2 separate regions of the Homo sapiens genome follow, and region 2 is linked to region 1. The links are contacts of gene promoters, found by promoter capture Hi-C in blood cells and fetal thymus (Javierre and others, 2016). All regions are on one chromosome and are shown on one strand. The core of a region is centred on a gene start or on the middle of the fragment in contact, and the rest is flanking DNA. Distances in the headings are between cores, read along the strand shown.

Evidence for each region. The method cuts DNA at HindIII sites, captures the fragments that hold promoters and counts their contacts. A CHiCAGO score of 5 or more calls a contact.
Region 2: a contact is called between the fragment with the promoter of CLEC18C here and the fragment with the promoter of EXOSC6 in region 1, in 1 of 17 cell types (endothelial precursors). The highest score is 7.3, in endothelial precursors.

Annotation. Positions count from the first base shown.
Region 1 is chr16:70,248,743-70,254,278 of GRCh38, forward strand. EXOSC6 (exosome component 6) reads right to left here and starts at 3,198. Exons shown (of 1, transcript NM_058219.3): 1 at 1-3,198. The coding sequence starts at 3,158. The coding sequence ends at 2,340. AARS1 (alanyl-tRNA synthetase 1) reads right to left here. Exons shown (of 21, transcript NM_001605.3): 18 at 5,177-5,296; 19 at 4,972-5,058; 20 at 4,526-4,639; 21 at 3,556-4,164. The coding sequence ends at 3,979. RefSeq lists silencers at 2,405-2,724, 2,855-2,944 and enhancers at 3,325-3,374, 3,415-3,604, 4,239-4,739. The HindIII fragment of the contact is 9,148 bases long and covers 1-5,416 here.
Region 2 is chr16:70,171,051-70,176,586 of GRCh38, forward strand. CLEC18C (C-type lectin domain family 18 member C) reads left to right here and starts at 2,737. Exons shown (of 13, transcript NM_173619.4): 1 at 2,737-2,901; 2 at 3,123-3,352; 3 at 3,897-3,988. The coding sequence starts at 3,229. LOC400541 (a long non-coding RNA gene) reads right to left here and starts at 2,398. Exons shown (of 3, transcript NR_126007.1): 1 at 2,078-2,398. The HindIII fragment of the contact is 29,094 bases long and covers 1-5,536 here.

The sequences.
Region 1 (5,536 bases), core at 1,948-4,447:
TACCACCATGCCTGACTTATTTTTTTTCCTTTTTTTTTTTTTTTTTTTTTTTTGATAGAAACAGGGTTTCACCTTGTTGCCCAGGCTGGTCTCAAACTCCTGGACTCAGGCGATTCACCAGCCTCAGCCTCCCACAGTGCTGGGGTTACAGGAGTGAGCCACCATGCCCAGTTAAAAATACACTTTTTATTTAAAAAAAAAAGAGAACACTCCTTATATTTCCTTTATATTTTGTAAACTACATACCCAAAATAAAGCATATCAAAAACTGTAAAAAAAAAAAAAAAAAACCCTAATATCAGATATTCCAGACACAACAATACCATAATTTAATCACTTAAAATCTTACTCAAAACTAAATCAATGATCTTTTAGGCCAGGTGTGGTGGCTCATGATAGTAATCACAGTACTTTGGGAGGCCAAGGCAGGAGGATCACTTGAGGTCAGGAGTTCAAGACCAGCATGGCCAACACAATGAAAATCCATCTCTACTAAAAATACAAAAATTAGCCAGGCTAATGGCACACTCCTGTAATACCAGCTACTTAGGAGGCTGAGGCAGGAGAATCGCTTGAACCTGGGAGGCAGAGGTTGCAGTGAGCCGAGATCATGCCACTGCACTCCAGGCTGGACAACAGAGCAAGACTCCGCATCAAAAAAAAAAAAAAGATATTTTAATATATTCAGATACACAAATATGAAATAAAACTAAGTAGAGCTGGTATTCATTTACACATAATTATCTTATACCGTTTGGAATAAGAATTTGGGGCACGTTAGCAAACCAAAAGGCTCAGAAAGACGTCGTGATATTTAGTTCTTGTCTCCCTCTACAAATGTGAAGCACTCTTCTATCCGGCATTCCTAGTGGAGTTCCTATTTTCAAATTTGCAAATCATTCTGGTGCTAAGCAATCTCAAAAAAAACATTTACTAAAAACCAGAGGAAAAAAATCTTATAACTTTGGGAGGCTGAGGCAGATGGATCACTGAGATCAGGAGTTTGAGACCAGCTTGGCCAACATGATGAAACCCCATCTTCTCTAAAAATACAAAAAGTTAGCTGGGTGTGGTGGCAGGTGCCTGTAGTCCCAGCTATTCCAGAGGCTGAGGCAGGAGAATCACTTGAACCTCTGAGGCGGAGGTTGCAGTGAGCTGAGATCGCGCCATTGCACTCCAGCCTGGGCAACAGAGTGAGACTCTGTCTCAAAAAATAAATATAAAAAAATAAAAAGCTGCTATTCTCCATTAATACCTGCAGGCCCGACAAAGGCAGCCTAGGAATTCTAGATGAATGGAATGAATACAACTTGCTGGAAGTTCTTAGGAAACAAAATGACTATTCACAGAACCAAATAAAAGCCTTCCACTAGAAACTAAAAATAATAATAATAATAATAATGGTTTTATATATATGCATACACAAGCAAAGCCAGAAGAGAATAAATAGCAAATGAATGAAAACTAGAAGCAAAAACAAACAGGAAACCATCTCTACATTTTTTTTACTCAATCGACCCTGAATGCTACAGCATTATCCAGGGCCGCAGAAAACACACATAATACTTTATTCCTGATAAACAATTCGATGTCCTTAAGTCCGCCAATATCACCGTACATTCTGTGCAATCAAGAAATTTACTCAGCTGGGCACAGTGGCTCACACCTGTAATTCCAGCACTTTGGGAGGCCAAGGCGGGTGGATCACCTGAGGTCAGGCATTCGAGAACAGCCTGGCCCACATGGCGAAACCCCATCTCTACTAAAAATACAAAAATTAGCCCGGTATGGAGGCATGTGCCTGTAATCCCAGCTACTTGGGAGGCTGAGGCAGGAGAATGGATTGAACCCAGGAGGCAGAGGTTGCAGTGAGCCAAGATTGCACCATTGCACTCCAGCCTGGGCAACAGAACAAGACTCCATCAAAAAAAAAAAAAAAAAAAAAAGAAAGAAAGAAGAAAAGAAAATTAGCCAGGTGTGGTTGCATGCACCTGTAGTCCCAGCACTTTGGGAGGCCAAGGCAGGAGGATCAATCAAGGCTAGGAGTTTGAGACTGCAGAAAGAAACCCTGTCTCTAAAAAAAAGGTCCAGGTAATTTCAGGGTCCAGCTCCACCACAAGCGCAGCTCCAGGGGCTGTTGAGTTTTGCCTTTATCATTCCAAGTAGTCCCTGCTCCAGACCAAGTCCCACCATCTGGCAGTCAGGTCAGTCCAACCACAGTCATATCAGGGCCCTTCCAGGAATTCTCGACGCAAACTGGAGGCCGATGGCGCGGGTCTTTTCGTGGACGGCGGCAGCACGGTCCTCGGCTTGCGTCCGTAGTTGCTCAGGCTTCTGGTTCAGGGCTGGGCGGCGGCGCCCCTGCGGCGGGCGGCCCGCACCAGGCTCTGCTGCAGCACGGGGTAGAGGCGCTGGCAGCCCTCGAGGCCCAGGCGTACGGCCTCCGCCCAGCTCTCTGTCAGGCCGCCCTCGCCGCTGCCCAGCAGCCCGGCCACCTGATTCAGCACAGGCATGAGCGCCACGGTGAGGCCGGCGGCGGCGCGCTCTTCCTCGAGCCGCGTGGGGTCCAGGAGCCAGGTGGGCGCGGGCCCCGGCGCGAGGCTGAGGCCGCAGCCCACCACCAGGTCGTACATCTCCACGCCCGCGTCGGCCAGGGCGAGCGCGGCGGCGGTGAGCGCGGCGGCCAGGGCCGAGCCACCGTCCTCCAGCAGCAGCGCCGACACCTCGAGCTGCGCGCGCGGGTAGCGGCCCAGGCGCACAGCCGGCTCCAGCGCCTCCTGCAGCGCCAGCGCCAGCTCACGCTCCTCGCAGCCGCCCGGGGGAGCGCGGCGCCGGCGGCCCGCGAAGGGTGCGCGGCGGAAGTCGCAGAGCAGGCGACCGCGCAGCGCGGCCGGGGCCTCGCCGCCTGCTCCGGCCGGGCCGCCGCCGCGCTCGCCGCCCTCGGCCTGTCGCGGGCCCGACACGGCACACAGCACCTTGGTGCCTCCCGCCTCCAGGTAGGCCGAGCCCTTGGCCTGGCTCAGCAGCCCGGCGCGCGCGTACACGGGCCGTAGCCGCGTTGGGTCGCGGGTGCCGGGCGCCTCCTCCTCGTCGGCCGCGTACAGCTGCGGCGGCTGCGATTCTTCAGGGCCGCGGATGCGGCGGTGATCCCCAGGCATGGCGGTTCTTGGCGTGCGAACCCCTTCCGCCCAACGCCCTGCCGCATCCACTGGTTCTTCCGTTGTTTAAAGACGCGCGGCTGCGCATGGGCTGTCGAGAGAGCGGCGGGAGGCACTACAGCGCCCCTGGAGGCCCGGAGGGAGAACGGCCCGGTCCCAGTTGTGCAGGGTAGCCGGATCCATCCATCTTGCTGGAAGGGAGGGGGGAGAGCAGCTCCAAGAAAGGCTTCTCTGCTTCCAACTACCTCCACCCCTCATCTACTGAATTATGAACGCCTTGCTCCAAGTCACCCCACCTATTTGGCCTCCACCTCCACAGACGTTTGAGGCAGCCCTAGGGGCTGTTCCCAAAATTTTGGGTTCTGGGGCTGGACTAGGTGAACACCACAGCAGCCAGCAGGAGCCACAGCATTTATTCTACAGACGCCAAAGGCTGTCAAAAGAGCCAGCCCCTATTGGGAAGAGGGATAGAGATCATGCGGCATTAAGTATTGCACGTGGTCCTTTTATTCTCTGCAGCAAAAACGATTCCTACTTGCTGACGCGGAAAGCTCAGGTCTGGAGAGCCGTTATCTATAGATGCGAGCGTGACGATCAACAGCAATGCGGGGTTAGTGGTTCTAGACCGATGGCACTGACGTGGAGGGCTCAGGGCAGAAATTTAAGGGGCACTGAGACATAGGACTGCTCCCAAGTGTGTTCCAGTTACTGCTGGGTTAGGAGGGGCTCTTTAAAGGTCCCAAGATTCAAATGTTCTTGTAGCAGATGAAGAGCTCTTGGCTGGACGGATGGATCCAGTGGGAGCCTCCTCCTTCCCCACTCAGTTCTTTACATCCCCGAGGCGCAGCTGGGCGAAGGAAGTGGCCAGCTGCAGCGCCTCCTGCAGGCAGCCAACGTTCTTGCCTGTGGCCTGTGCAGACACATCCTTGCCACCACCTTTACCGTCCATCAAGCCTGACACCTGCTGCACCCACTCGCTGGCTTTTAAGCCCCGATTGGCTGCATTCTAGAAGACAGGAAGGGAAGGGGGAGTCAGCACAGAAGATGGGATTGAGGGAGGAATGCAGGGAAAGAAAGGATGGAGGAGCCATCACCCACTCCTTGCCCTGGGTGATACTGCTGGAGGCCGAGACAGACTTTACGGCTGGTACAGGGGGCGGCCATGGCCACTGCCAGGACAGGACAGAGTGGCAAAGCCAGGTATCAACCAGATGTCTTCACCAATAAGAAGGCCTGGGTAAGGGGTACTGGCAAAGGTAACCAACCGGTGGGCAGAAAGGCTGTTTCGAATGCAGGCTGTACACACACAGGCCTCAGCCAACAACCTTAAGACCTAACACTTCCCACTGGTGCGAGGTGGTGCTGACCTGGGGAACTTGACACAGGCACGTGATCTTGCCAGCCTCATTGTCCACCGTGAAGAGCATGGCAGAAGTCTGAGGGGAGTGCATCTTGAAGAGCTTCAAGGCTTCATTCAGGGCCTGTGGGGAGGACCTGGCTCAGGCCACGGTGCTGGAGCAGGGACCCTCACTAGTGTGAGCATTTGCAGCCCTCAGAAGGCCTGCCACCCACCCCTACCCCTTCCCAGAGCAGGGGCTGTGCCCAGGGCCTGTGGGGAGGACCCCAGCGCCGGGCCCTGCCCCTACCCTGGCCCAGGTATGCCTCCCACATGCAGGGAGCTGCTGCTCCTCCCAATCTCAATCCCAGACCGTGGGCCCTTAGGCAACCACTTCGCTCAGAGCCACAGAGGCCACATGTCAGCCACCAGAGAGCTGATGAGCCCTAGGGGAGGGGACCCTGGCCCCTGGGTTGCCTTGGCTGAGGCGCCGCTCTCCATCTCCAGGATGACAAGAGGCTGGTTGGGGTTGCTGTCGATGAACTGCTTCGTCTTCTCTAACACCTGCAAGAAAAAAGTCCAGAACAGCAGCTCAGACCAAAAGCCCAGGCCCCGAACCCCTGGCTGTTCTGCCAGCCTTTGCCTAGGAAACACTCTGGCCACTGGTGCTGCCAGGACTCACTCGTTTCTGGACATCGGCTTTGCTGGCTCGGTCCAAGTCATCCATGACCTTCTTTAGGGATTTGAGAGTCTCCCGCAATTCATCCTTCTGCCACTGGGGGATGACTGCAGTGGCCAGGGCCTGGAACCAATAGACGACCATCTCAATCTGGGCCACAACTTGCTGGGATGTCAGGGTCCAGCCCACCCCACCCGAACCCAAGTCCTCCCTGACTAGTGTCCTGGAAAGGAAAGCAAGGAAAGCTTTGAGACCAGTCCCTTTAGGAGCAGCTGTGGCAGGTGAAACAAGCAGGGCTAGAGAGAAAGGAGCAGCAGAAAGCTGGGCTCCCAAATCAGGCCCGGTCCTTACCAGGCTGGGAAC
Region 2 (5,536 bases), core at 1,487-3,986, 78 kb before region 1:
CCCAGGTAGGTGGGACTATGGACACGTGCTACCACGCCCAGCTAATTTTTTGTATTTTTTTTAGAGACGGGGTTTCACCATGCTGCCCAGGCAGGTCTCAAACTCCTGAGATCAAGCAGTCCACCCAGCTTGGCCTCCCAAAGTGCTGGGATTATAGGTGTGAGTGAGCTACTACGCCTGGCCTGGACATGTAATTTTTAAAAGAAAATGTGGCCACAACTCTCCTAGAGTTAAATGTTTTTTTTGTTTGTTTGTTTGTTTGTTTTTTGAGACCATCAACAAGATTTCAAGGCTTTAAAGAAAGGAGCTGCTTCAGGAAGAGATAAAATGACTCAAACGCTATAACCTTCAAATGTAGACTGGGAGAAGAGGTATCAGCTATGCATGAGCTGGAGAGGGGTGGGATAGATAGAGACACAGGTGATAAAGAAAATATAGCAAAATGTGAATCCTACAATCTGGGTGGTGGATGTAAACCCTGTAGTAGCCTCACCTGGGGAAAGCTGCCTTGCAACAATGAGGCTGCCCATTCTCCAAACCCACCCCAGCCACCGAGCAGGCTCCACTAAAAAGTCTGAACCCAGGAGGGAGTACCATGGAAACCAAGTTGCAATGCCCTGGTTAGGGGCCCAGCAGAGGGGTCATCCCAGCTCTACGCCATTGGATACTGAGTTTCAGGAGTGGGAGTGCCATCCTCAGGGTCACACAGCGTGTCGGTTCCAGCCTAGGTCTTCCAGTGTCTCATTAATCTTTTATCCACTCAGCTTCTCTTCTGGCCCATGAACCTTGCTCTCCTGGGACTCTTTTTTTTTTTTTTGAGGGGTCGGGGGTGGGACAGAGTCTCGCTCTGTTGCCCAGGATGGAGTGCAGTGGTGCCATCTTGCTTCACTGCAACCTCCGCCTCCCAGATTCAAGCAATTCTCCTGCCTCAGCCTACCGAGTAGCTGGGACTACAGGCACCCACCACCCTGCCCAGATAATTTTTGTATTTTTAGTAGAGACAGGATTTCACCATGTTGGCCAGGCTGGTCTCGAGCTCCTGACCTCAAGTGATCCGCCTGCCTTGGCCTCCCAAAGTTCTGGGATTACAGGCGTGAGCCATCACACCCGGCCTGGGACTCTTCTTGCAGTGAGCCAGGGCCATGGGACCCTTCAAAAGTTGCTCCACCCTAATCCCCAAAATATCTTTTTCTCCCGCCTGTCCCAAGTGCCTGGCATCATACTATATGGGTCAACTGGCCATGTTTGCCATGGAAGCCCAATTGTAGGAAGTGGGTCTTTTATCACCCGGCATAGCAGAGCTGTGGAAACTGCACTGGGAAAGATCAGGATGTGAATTAAAGCGTTGGGAATGGGAAGGCAGAGACCTTGGATTAGCTGGGATGCTCCATGCACTCGCTGAGTGACCTTGGACAAGCCCCTTAGACACACTAAGCCCGTTTCCTCATCTACACGACGGGCATCCCATCTGCTACTGCACCAGGTTCTTGTGGCAATAACTTGAACTCACACATGCAAACAGGCTTTGTGAGCTCCATAAACACAGGTGGCTCGGCCAGGTGTGGTGGCTCATGCCTGCAACCCCAGCACTTTGGGAGGCCAAGGTGGGAAGATCCCTTGAGCCCAGGAGTTGGAGACCAGCCTGGGCAAGACGATGAAATCCTGTCTCTACCAAAAAAAATAATAATAATTAGCCAGGCATGGTGGCACACACCTGGTCCCAGCTCCTTGGGAGGCTGAGGTGGGAGGATCACTTGGGCCCAAGAGGTCAAGGCTGCAGTGAGCTGAGATTATAACACTCCAACCTGAGTGGCAGAGTGAAACTGTCTAAAAAATAAAAATAAAAATACATCAAAAAACAGGTAGCTATTAAGCATTGCTAGGACCCACACGCAGTGACCCTGAGGGTGCTGGGTTTCTGTTTGAGGGAGAAGAAACTCCTGAGCCCCTAGGTATTGTGGGGGACATGCAGTTCCAGACCGCCTTCATGGCCTGTATGCCTGGCCTCATCCCCATCCCTGGCACCCATGACGATAGCCACATTCCACTGGTGTTTCCCCAGGAAAGCCAACCCTACCTGCATCTCAGCAGAGCTTCCACGGAGTTGGAACCCCGCTCCGAGAGGGTGTGGGCTCAGGGGCCAGGGGTCACACAAACTCCAGAAGGAGGACGTAGTTGGTTTGCAAGGCTGTCCTTTGCCCTGGTTGAATAACCTTTGGTCTTCCCCGAGAGGAACGTGGGCATTAGGCTGCAGCCCACAGGAAGCTATGTATTTTCTGAGAAACTTGGCCCATGGTGCAGATCTGCTCCAGCTCACTCTGGTGGGATCACGCCAGCCACGGCCGGGCCACGGCACATCATGGCAACGTGCTGCCCACCTGCTACGCCACCTGTTTTTCTAGAGGCGGACGTGATCCCAGCAGGACTGGAGTCAGCCCAGGGCATCACGTGCTCTGGTCCCCGCCTGCTTTGACTCCTCCTGCCTCACTCCCCCCCTGGCCTGTAGTCACGTTGGTGAGGGTGGTGGGCACCGGGGCTGGGCCCAGCCCCCGACCCTGCCCAGACAGACTTTCCTAAGGCACCCTTTTCCTCGTGCAGGTGCGGCCTCAGCCCACCCCCCTTTGAGCCCACAGATTGCACCCCTCTGGTGTGCGGTTACCTCTTGCCTATGTTTAATTCATGGCTGGGGGGTTGGGACGAGCTTCCCAAGAAAGGAAAGAACTCCCCTGGGGTCTTGCCCAGTTTCTGCTCACCAGAAGGACCATAGCCGAGGTCCTCCTCCCAGGGCCCGGGGCTGGGGAGCGGAAGCCATCAGTGGGCTCGGAGGACACTGTCCCAGCCAGGACACGGCCATCGGTCACTAATCTGCAGCACTGGAATGTCCGCAGGCCAATCAGCGGGGTCTCTGGGGGCTCCCCAAGGGTGCTAATAATCCCACAATGATTAGCAGGGGCCGCGGGTCAGTGCACGCCACTCTGCCTGCTGTCGGGGGCGGGCTGGCCAGGCCGAGGCCGGAGCAGGCAGGCATCCCCCGGAGTTGTCTCTTTTCATGCCAGCGCCAACAGGAGGCTGTCTGGACACACTGATTACTCACTCACCAGCCTCCCTCTTTTGTCCACCAGCCCAGCCTGACTCCTGGAGATTGTGAATAGCTCCATCCAGCCTGAGAAACAAGCCGGGTGGCTGAGCCAGGCTGTGCACGGAGTGCCTGACGGGCCCAACAGACCCATGCTGCATCCAGAGACCTCCCCTGGCCGGGGGCATCTCCTGGCTGTGCTCCTGGCCCTCCTTGGCACCGCCTGGGCAGAGGTGTGGCCACCCCAGCTGCAGGAGCAGGCTCCGATGGCCGGAGGTAAGGGACACCTGGTGAGGAGGTAGGTGGAGGCACCATTATGAGCTCTGAGGAGTGGGTGCTAGGAGACTTCTGGAAGCCCGGTCCCAGGCCTGAGCCCCAGGCCGTGCGGGTGGTTTAATGAGGAAGCCCTGGGACAGCCCGGGGGCGGTGAGGGGTGGATGCTGGACTGGGGAGGAAGGAGGAGGAAGGAGGACCAGGGCTGGGGTCAAGGAGGAACGCCGAGGAGCGCTGTGGCTGGGGCCTGGAGAAATCCGTGGCCCGGAGGAGCCCCAGACAGGGGCCTGCGGGAGCCAGGGCTGGCCCCTACACCCAGCCCGCACCGCTGTTCCCTCCCGCCACCCCAACCCCAGCACTCAGCCCACGCCTGCTGTACCTGGTCTCTCTCTCAGCCTCGCTCCATTGCTATGCCCCACGTCCCCTGCACCCACCACACTCCTCTCCCATCTTGTTTTCCAAGGGCAGGGACACATGCTTATTCTGCCGTGTGTTGGGTTCAGGTCCCCCCATCCTCGGGCTGCCTGACCTTCTCTCTCCACCCCAGCCCTGAACAGGAAGGAGAGTTTCTTGCTCCTCTCCCTGCACAACCGCCTGCGCAGCTGGGTCCAGCCCCCTGCGGCTGACATGCGGAGGCTGGTGAGTACCCGACCCAGCTGGGCTCTGCCAGGGGGGTGGCCGGAGGCGCGGACCCCAGAGGGCGGCTCAGGAGGCCACGCCTGTCCAGGTGCCCTTCCACTTGACCAGGGTGGGCAGGCACAGCCAGCCACCTTGCCCCTGAGGGACGGAGGCCCTGGTTGCTGGGGGTCTCTGCAGTTTCTTAACCCCCCACCCTCAGTTCAGGAGGTCGGGCCCCTTGGCTCCCACTCGCCTGAAGGGCAGGACCTTGGGCCTTCCCTGGCATCTTGTTGCCACAGAGACCAGGAGCCACAGGAGGAGCCGGATCCCCTCCTCCAGGGAAGGGGAGCTTCACGAGGAGCCCTGCAGGATGGGCGGCCGGGCCAGGGAGGGAGAAGGTCGTGCTGGGCTGGGGAGGGGCTTCTGTGCGGCAAGGACCCAGCGCCTCCTCCTGAGCTTATCTGAGCCACGAGGACGGGCCTTGCCCATGTTCTCTGCTCACTCACTCGTCCACATTTTCCACATTTTCAGCAGGGGCCGGGGGTCGGGGGTATAGAGTTCCCCACCAGCCCGGCTGGGGCTGCGGGGTTGGGACTGTCATCTGGAGGCTCAGAAACGCTGCCCTCCATTGTCTGGGACCCCAGCAGCCCCAGCCCATGTTAGCAGGCCAGGGAGCCAGGGCAGGGTGGTGGGGGCGGGAGGGTTCCCCATGGCTGCTTCCCATGAACTCCTCCAAGGCAGGTGGCCACAGTGGCGACCTTGAGCACTCTAGGGTCAGTTTCCCAGGAGGTGGGGGTGGGGTGGCTAAATGCGGGGGGTCGCTTCTCCCCCATTCCCAGCCCTGAGTGGCTCTGCCTCTCCTCAGGCTCAGACCCTGGGCAACCAGGGGTGCTCCCAGCTGTGACCTCCGTGGTTGGGTACTCCTGCCTGGGACCCCAGGAGGGGCTGCGGTGGTCGTTGGCTGGCAGCTGGCACCCTTTCCAGGGCCCTTTTGTCAAAGTCTTAGAAAACTTCATTTCCATAAAGGTGCAAATGGAGCTCCATGGCTCAGCCTCCCTCGTGGCCCGGCCCCGAGCACCCTCCGGGCCTCTAGGGCTCCAGGGCACCCCTTCTTTGGACACAGTGGAGACTGAAGGTCTTGTGGGGGTGGAGGGCTGCTGAGGGACCCCGGGGAGCCCCCAGCTCCTGGCCCCAGCCTTCATCAGAGGTAAAACCCCGATGGACATTAGTGCAGGATGAAGTTGGCTTGGGGTGCAGCCCCGAGGGGCCCCCCTCCCTGCATCCACTCAGTGCTTGTGAGTCCTATCCTGCAGGCACCTCCCTGCTCCGTTTACAGATGAGCTCAGGGAGTCTCGGGAGATCAGGGGACTGCACCAAGTCACCCAGGGGTGGTGATTGCCAGGCCCACTTGTTTAAGAAGAGGGAGGGGGCTGGGCACGGTGGCTCACACCTGTAATCCCAGCACTCTGGGAGGCTGACACAAGCAGATCACCTAAGGTCAGCAGTTTGAGACCAGCAATGGCCAACATGGTGAAACCCCGTCTCTACTAAAAATACAAAAATTAGCCA